Linked DNA regions of Homo sapiens: all the other regions are linked to region 2. Evidence: promoter capture Hi-C in 16 types of primary human blood cells and fetal thymus (Javierre and others, 2016). All regions are on one chromosome and are shown on one strand. Each heading gives the region's core, a stretch centred on a gene start or on the middle of the fragment in contact. The rest is flanking DNA. Distances are from core to core; before and after follow the strand shown. Region 1 overlaps VWA3B (von Willebrand factor A domain containing 3B). Region 2 holds the start of TMEM131 (transmembrane protein 131). Region 3 overlaps VWA3B (von Willebrand factor A domain containing 3B).

Region 1 (2,700 bases), core at 39-2,538, 260 kb after region 2:
ATCATGAACTATGTTGCTATATGCATTTGTGTAGAAGTTTCTTTGTGGACATATGTTTTCATTTCTCTTGGGTATATACCTAGCAGTGGATTTGCTTGTCACATGGTAATTCTATGCTTAACTTTTTGAGGAACCACCAAACTGTTTTTCCACAGTGGCTATGCCATTTTTAGAACATATCTATTTATTTTTATTGACCCATAATAATTGTACATATTTTGGGGTACATGTGATATTTTGATACTTGCACACATGTAATGATCAAATCAGGATGTTTAGACTATCTATCACCTCAAACATTTATTATCCCTTTGTGTTGGGAACATTTCAAGTTGTCTCTTTTAGCTATTTTGAAATATACAGTAAATTATTGTTAACTATGGTCTCCCTACTGTGTTGTCAAGTGTTAGAACTTTTTCCTTCTACCTAACTGTATGTTTGTGTCCAATAGTCAAACCTCTCTTCATCTCCCCCACCTCCACACACACTCTTCCCTGCCTCTGGTAACTATGATTCTATTTTCTGCCTCCATAAGATCAACTTTTTTTTGTTTTTAGCTCCTACAGATGGGTGAGAACTATTTGTCTTTCTGTGCCGGGCTTATCTCACTTAATATCATGACCTCCAAATGATATTAAGTGCTGCAAATGATATTAAGTTGCTGCAAATGATAGGATTTTGTTCCTTTTTTTGGCTGAATAGTATTCCATTGTGTATATATACCACATTTTCTTTATCCATCCATCCGTTGATGGATACTTAGTTTGTTTGATTCCATATCTTGCTGCAATAAACATGAGGGTGCAGGTGTCCCTATGATACATATTGATTTACTATCTTTGGATAAATATCCAGTAGTGAGATTGCTGGATCATGTGGTAGGTTCTCATTGCTCCACATCCTCATGAACACTTGACATTTTCCTTTTCTTTTTTTTTTTAAGTCATTCTCATGGGTGTGAAAGGCTATTCTGCTGTGGTTTTGATACACATTTTCTTAATGACCAATGATGTTAAACATCTTTTCATGTGCTTGTTGTCCATTTGTATATCTTCTTTGGAGAAATGTTTATTCAAGTTCTTTGTCCATTTTCCAATTGGGTTGTGTTTTTGTTGTATAACTTCTGAGGATTAAGTCATTATCAGATATCTGATTTGTCAGTATTTTCTCCCATGCTATGGGTTATCTTTTCGTATTCTTCATAATGTCCTTGGAGGTCCAAAAGTTTTTAAGTTTTAGGAAGTGAATTCTTCTTTTTTTTTCTTTTGTTTGTGTTTTTGGTGTCAAATCTAAGAATCCATTGCCAAATACAAAATCATGAGCATTTATCCTTTTGTTTTCTTCTAATATGTTTACAGTTTTAGGTCTTACATTTGGACTTTTGATCCATTTTTGAGGGACTTTTTGTATCTGGTGTGAAGTAGGGTTCCAACTTCATTCTTTTTCATGTAAATATCCAGTTTATCCAGCACTATTTGTTTAAGAGACTATTCTTTCCCTTTGAATGGTCTTGGCACCCTTGTCAAAAATCATCTGACCATAAATGTTTGGGTTTATTTCTGGACTCTCTATTCTATTCCACTGGTCTATATATGACTATATTTATGCAAGTTGACACTGTTTTAATTATTGTAGATTTGTATTCAGTTTTGAAATTAGGAAATATGAGTCCTTCAACTTTGTTCTTCTATTTCAAAATTGTTTGGGCTATTCAGGGCCCCTTGAAGTTTTGTATACATTTGAGGATTGGCTTTTCTATTTCTGAAAAAAAAATTGGAATTTTTGTAGGGATTATATTTAATCTAAAGATTGCTTTGAAGAGTATTACCATTTTAACAATATTGTTTTCCAATCAATGAACATAGAATGTCTTTCCATTTATTTAGTGGATCTTTAATTCCTTCAGCAATGTTATATAGTTTTCAGTATACCTGCCTTTCACATCCTCTGTTATTTTGTTCTTTTGGGTGCTATTATAAATGGGATTGTTTTCTTAACTTCATTTTCAGATTGTTCATTGCTGGTACATAAAAACACAGCTGAATTTTGTATTTTGACTTTGTACCTTGCAACTTTGCTGAATTTATTGGTACTAGTGGCTTTGTGGGGAATCTATGGGGTTTTCTATATATAGAAACATATCATCTGCAAGTAGAAATAATTTTACTTCTTTCTTTCTAATTTGGATGCCTTTTATTTCTTTTTCTTACCTAATTGATCTAGCTAGTACTTCCAGAACAACATTGAATAGCAGTGGTGAAAGGGGACGTTCTTGTCTTGTTCCTGATCCCAGTGAGAAAGAAAGGAAGTTCCCTATATTCCTAGTTTCCTGATTGTTTTTATCATGAAAAGTGTGTGTTAAATTTTGTCAAGTGCTTTTTTCTGTATCTATTGAAATGATCATGGATTTTTCCCTTTGCTCTACTAATGTGATGTATTAAATCATGTGATTTTCTTGGGTTGAACCACTCCTGCATTTCTGGCATAAATCCTACTTAGTCATGGTGTATAATCCTTTTAATGTCCTTTTGGATTTGATTTGCTAGTGTTTTATTAAGAATATTTATGTCCATATTTATAAAGAAAATGGTCTGTAGTTTTCTTTGACATGTTTGTCTGGCCTTGGTATCAGGGTAATTCTCTTCTTGCTGACTGTTAAGAAGTATTCCCTCATCCATTTTTTGGAAGAGTTTGAGCAGT
Region 2 (2,700 bases), core at 101-2,600:
TGTTTTTTTTTTAAACTATTCACTTAGTCAATTCTTCATGAAGGCTCTGTGACCATTCACATGTCCCTTGGCTCAAAAAGAGGTAGTGTAGATGAAATTACACTGATTTGGTCTTCAAGATTACAAAATAATTTTTGACCCTGTCCAAGTACCCGTTTTGCAGCAGTACAATACTAATGAGATTTTTAAAATAGGGGCCAGCCCTTAACTGTAAATTATAGATAAATGCTTGCAAGCTGGCAACTTCACGTTTATTTTTAAAGGCTTTCACATCAAAGATAAAGGCACCGAATCACGTATTTTAAAATAAGAAATGTAAACAGGCTTTCAACAGCTTACTAAAGAGTTAAATGGAATTGTATTTAGGTCTAATAATAAAGTTATCAATAACGCAGAGACACTAAAGGAGGAAGCTACAGGACCAAGATTTCCCCTCGAAGAAATGTCTGAACAAATTCAAAGTGAAATTTTTTAAGCTGTGTCTCGCTATTTTTACCACATTTTAAAGTAAGCTCTGTCTGCATGCAACCAACCGCAACCAAGAAAACAGAAGTGTCCTAAAATGTACCTATTCGCCGCAATAAAGCCAAAAAATATGCCCCTCCTACCTAGCGGGCCAAGTGGCAAGAACGTACGAGAAGTCAGGAAGTTTTGAAATGGCAGTGACAGGAGACGGGGGAAGGCACGGGAAGGAATCACGGAGAGCGAAGGCCACTCCGTGCGGCGGGCGCCGCGAGGTCCCGGCTCGGGACGGTACCCGACCGCCCAACTTTGCGCCGGAGCCCCGGCCGCGGCCCTTCCTCCCGGCCCAGCCCTCCCGGCCTCCGCGAGAGCGGGGTGACAGCCCCGCCGCAGGGACGCCGCCGGGGGACACCCACCTTCCTTCTCGGCCCGCGCCGCAGCCACTACGAGGGTCATCACCAGGTGCAGCGCGCCTAGGAGGCCGGCGGCCGCGCTCCGCGGGCCCCCGCTACGGGCGGCCGCAGGTTCCAGCCCGGCCCCGGCGGACGTGGAGACGGCGGCGGTGGTGGCTCCGGTTGCTCCTCCTCCCGCCCGCTTCCCCATCCCTGCCGGCCGGGGGCCGCCGCGCTCGAGGTCCGGCGCGGCCCTTCTCGGCGAGGCGGCGGCGGCGCGGAAGCCGTGGTCCGGGCTCTGGCCGCGGCGCCGGGAGCGACAACGGTTGCGAGCCCGGGGCTCGATCTCCGAGCGTGGGCCTGGGTCCGTGCGTGCGTGTGAGCGAGAGTGTCAGTCACGGTCTTTGCCTGGGCATCGCCTACAAGCAGTCGGAGCGGAGAGGCCGCGGGTCAGGCGCGGCGGGCGGCCATACTGGAAACGGGCACGGCCCGCGAGCCCTGAGCGCTGGCCTGCGAGGGGCGGGGCGCGGCTCTGGGCACCGCCCACGCTGTGCCGACACCTGGGCTGTCCGGCGGTCAGTCTGTCCGCCCCGGAGCCCCCTGGGCCCCACCTCCTCGTCCCGCTCTCGGAGGCCTGCGGCTTCACGGCCAGACAGAACCAGGACAGAACAACCCCAGCCCGTTACCGCTACCTGGCGCAGGAGAAGGAGGGAGGCAGGCCCAGGTCCAGCTGCCAGGACTTATGATGGCGGCTTCTGCTTCGCGGAGGCGGTGTCGGCAATCACGTGGAGACGGGGCGGCCTCGCCGCGCAGCCGCCGCGTTGCGTGGGCGGGGCAGGGGCGGAGTTGCGGGGCGCTAACCTCTTCTCCGGCGCCTGGGCAATCCTCCGTGCTCTGTCCTACAGTGGTAGAGCCTTCCAGGGGTGTGAGTGCGCATACAGACCGCGAGACGAGCGCGGAAGGTCCGTTCCAGTGACTCTTCCTGGTGGCACCCCCACCTCTCGACCGCTTTGACGTCGAGAATACCCCGGGCCTGACTCAGTTCTTGATGGTGCTTCCTTGAGGATGGTGGCCCGCTGAACTCATCCTTGGGTCTTCCAAATCATGGTACCCAGGAGGAGCTTGATGGAGTCCTCTTGCCTTGGCTTGTGCCCACATTGGCGCGGAACACCTCGTGTGCAGAAAGCGTCGGTGACTCTGGATGGAGAAGGCAGGGGCAAACAGACTGCTCTTTAGAATATCCAGTAGCCGGCTTCCTCTCTCGAGGAAGAATTCTTTTTTTTCTTTTCTTTATTTTTTAATTATTTATTTATTTTTGAGACAGGGTCTGGTTCTGCCGCCCAGGCTGGAGTGCAGTGGTGCGGTCTGGGACTACAGGCACCCGCCACCACGCCACGCCAATTTTTCTTTTTCTTTTAAGAAACGCTGTCTCACTATGTTGGCCGAGCAGGTCTCGAACTCCTGGGCTCAAGCAGTCCGCCTTCCTCGGCCTTCCAGAGTGCTGGGATCACAGGCGTGAGCCACTGTGCTGGGCCCGGAAAAATTCTTAAGACGTCTGTTACCTTCACGAGCCATCTCGCGCCTCTTAGATGCCCTTTTCATCTTAGGTTGAGCTTCTTGGTGCGCATGGCTGTTGTCTCCAAGACTTAATTTAAGCTCTTGGAGGGGGTCCTTCTTTACTCATCTTAGTAACTTCCTCCCAGCTTGTAGCCCAGAGACATTTTACTTTCCTTAGCTGTATTTGTTGAGTGAGTCGATATATGTGTAAGGCCAAGTCTGCCCACAGTACGTCTCAGAACAAGCTAGATAGGAAAATAAGGTTTCAGAAAGACAAAAGGAACTCCAG
Region 3 (2,700 bases), core at 7-2,506, 280 kb after region 2:
TTTAGCATCTGGAAGTGGGACCCCTGATGGGCCTCCAGGGCATGTGGCCAGAGTGAAGCTGAAATCCCAGAGGCAGTGAGAGGATGACAAAGAGAAAATGAAGCCCTTCATTACTGTGCCACGTTTATCTAGGGGTTAGATGGGGCTTTAAGGAGAGAATCCTGCTCAGAAACACCAGTCACTGGAGGAAACTGAAAGAAGGGGGAAAATATCCCCAAACTCTATTTTCTAAGAAGTCTTCTGTCTCATGTCCTGATGTTCAGGAATGGGAAGGTGGGTGTCAACTCTGGGGATCCCTGAGGTGACAAAAACTTAGAACCAGGCTGTCTTTTCATTCTGAAGCTAAAGGCACCCTCCTCGCTGGAGATTCGGCTGGGCAGATGCCAGCACTCTCCTGCCTCTACATTTGTCTTTGTTCCCAACCATGAATTCTACCCAAGCACCCTAAACAGATCTGGGGACAGATTTGCCCTCCCTGTCTGGAGGAAGAAAACGGAGTGTAGAGGGCTTAGCAGGGGCCACTCAGGAAGCAGAATCCAATTCATTCAGCACAAGTGAAGAAACGTTAATGAAGGAACTCTTTGCAGAAGTGAAGGTCAGTCTAAGGCAGTCCGTGGGATATTGCAGGACCCCAGGACAAGCAATAGCAGGAAGCTGTTATCATCCCCAGACTTAAAGGGGCAAGGGAAGGAAAGCGTGTTCCTGGAGCCCTAGAGAGAAAGAGCAGGGAGTGGGCAGGACACCAATACCCCGGCTTCCTCCTGCCTTCTGAGCTTGGCGCGTGCCTCAAGACAGCAAAAATTAGGGAGATAGGGTGGTGTGTTCCCTGGGGGCCAGCCTCTGGGGGTACAGAGCAGGGCAAGGAAGGGCAGAGAGCAAGGGGGATGCGTGAGTGGGGGCGGAATAGCCAGCCCAGAGGAGTGGATGTCTTGAAAAGTTTTCTTAAAGACTCAGAATTCATTTGCACACCAGTCTCGTGTGAGATGTTTGTGTAAAGTAGGTGGCTGGTAGTGGTTCATACGTCAAGGCAGTGCCACGAAAGTGGCTCCCAAGTGTGGCTTTTGTTCATCTCCGGAGTAGCGGGAAATGAATAACTGTATCAGGAACGCGAAATTACAAATCCCAAGCTTTGGTGATTTCCAGATATAAATATGTAACACACTTCAAATTTTTCTCTCTTTGTTTGTTTGTGTGTTTTTTCCTAAAAGAGCAATAAGGGAATATTTCCTGAGATGACGTTGCAGGTTTACTTTCAAGATAGGGAAATAGTTTTGGATTTTTTTGTTTTTCTGTTTGGAATATAGTATATGTTTATTAGATTCCTTTGCTGCCACAAAGAAAAGAAAGAGAGAGAGAGAAAAAAAACACACAAGTTTATTTTCAGCAAAGCTTTGAGGTAGCTATTTGTTAATGTTTGACTGGAGGTTTTGCTTTCAGGGTGATTAACTGTTCTCCACACCCCGGTGCTGCCCTGGGGTCAGGGAGGGGAAGGAATGTTTCCTGGTTCGGGGATCTGTCTGTGGAAGTGTTTCTTGTGCCTCTTAGCCATTCGCACGGCACAAAGCGCTACCAGCTGGGATGAGGCTGAGGCCAGACCGCTCACCAGGCCTGTGCCGGGCTCAGGAAGCAGCGCCTGGAGAGGGAGGTGGAAACTGCACTGGGGTTTTGGGATGCGTGTTACTGGCTGTGTGTTTTCACGAGTTATGCTATGCCCTGGGGAGGCGGGGGAAAACCTCACAAAGCACTCCTCTACATCCCTTTGGTTTTTAAGGCAAGGCTAAGTGCCTAAGACTACTGGAAAGGAAGGGGATCAAAACCCCCTTAAGCCTTGGCCGGCCAGGCAGCACTGCCAGCTTTCCCTTGAGCCCCCGCCCAGATGTGCCGTACTTGATAGCAGCTCACAAGAAGACCTTGCTGCTTCTTCAGGGCTCATGCAGGAAATTCCACTTAGAGCTTCACTTCTTTAGCACAATATTTGCCTTCTGTTAAAGTGCAAATGCCCTGGGAAGGAAGGCACTAATTCGTTTGCCATGGGCCACTCGCTCCCCGCCCCGGAGATGCTGGGCAGGAGTTTGCCACTCCTGATTTCTATTTTCCTGTAAGCTCTTTTCTCATTCTCTCTCCAGTCCATTTTTCAAAGGGATGCAGAGTCTGGATACTTTCTGGGTGGATGAAATCCCTCTAAATCTAAATGAGCGGGGAGAGAGTGAGTTCCCAAACGCTTCAGGTTAGCCCTGTCCTGTTCACCAAGGTTTTAAAGGGAGTTGAATTATTCACAGAGACAGTTTGCAAATGTCCCGGTCTTTTAATTAAGTGTCCTAGAAAGGGGAAAGGTCAGCACCTGTCTGAACCTACACACATTCCTTTGATTAGAGCAGTGACAGACTTTACATGGCCTTAAGGACAAACGTGGACAAAGAAGCATGTTGGAGCTGCTGTTACGACAATTAGGGGATTGTATATGCTGGAGTTCAATGATTTAGGGCAGGAAAAGTATTTAGTAGTGGGTGTTTTTAACAAGATTTTGAGCCAAAGATTAGTTCTAGTTAATTTGTAGAAATGTGTTCTGTACCTAGTGTAGAAGTATGCTGCTTGTTACATGGAAAATTTTAAAGCATCAAACCTTTAGTCATTTCACTATCTCCACCACCATGTCCAAGAGCATGACCTTGAAATTAAGTCACGAAATGAAAAGAGGGT

What was found. The method cuts DNA at HindIII sites, captures the fragments that hold promoters and counts their contacts. A CHiCAGO score of 5 or more calls a contact.
Region 1: a fragment that was not itself captured here is called in contact with the fragment with the promoter of TMEM131 in region 2 in 1 of 17 cell types (M2 macrophages); the score reaches 5.1 in M2 macrophages.
Region 3: a contact is called between a fragment that was not itself captured here and the fragment with the promoter of TMEM131 in region 2, in 2 of 17 cell types (M1 macrophages and M2 macrophages). The highest score is 5.5, in M1 macrophages.

Annotation. Positions count from the first base shown.
Region 1 is chr2:98,256,625-98,259,324 of GRCh38, forward strand. The region is part of intron 21 of VWA3B (von Willebrand factor A domain containing 3B); the gene reads left to right. Among named protein-coding and RNA genes, the nearest start is that of CNGA3, 88 kb to the right of the region's middle. The HindIII fragment of the contact is 8,873 bases long and covers 1-2,700 here.
Region 2 is chr2:97,994,598-97,997,297 of GRCh38, forward strand. It overlaps TMEM131 (transmembrane protein 131), which reads right to left and starts at 1,351. Exons shown (of 41, transcript NM_015348.2): 1 at 879-1,351. The coding sequence starts at 1,065. RefSeq lists silencers at 641-1,200, 1,311-1,560 and enhancers at 1,097-1,610, 1,781-2,060. The HindIII fragment of the contact is 7,821 bases long and covers 1-2,700 here.
Region 3 is chr2:98,279,006-98,281,705 of GRCh38, forward strand. All of the region lies in intron 22 of VWA3B (von Willebrand factor A domain containing 3B), which reads left to right. Among named protein-coding and RNA genes, the nearest start is that of CNGA3, 66 kb to the right of the region's middle. RefSeq lists an enhancer at 1,196-1,696. The HindIII fragment of the contact is 262 bases long and covers 1,126-1,387 here.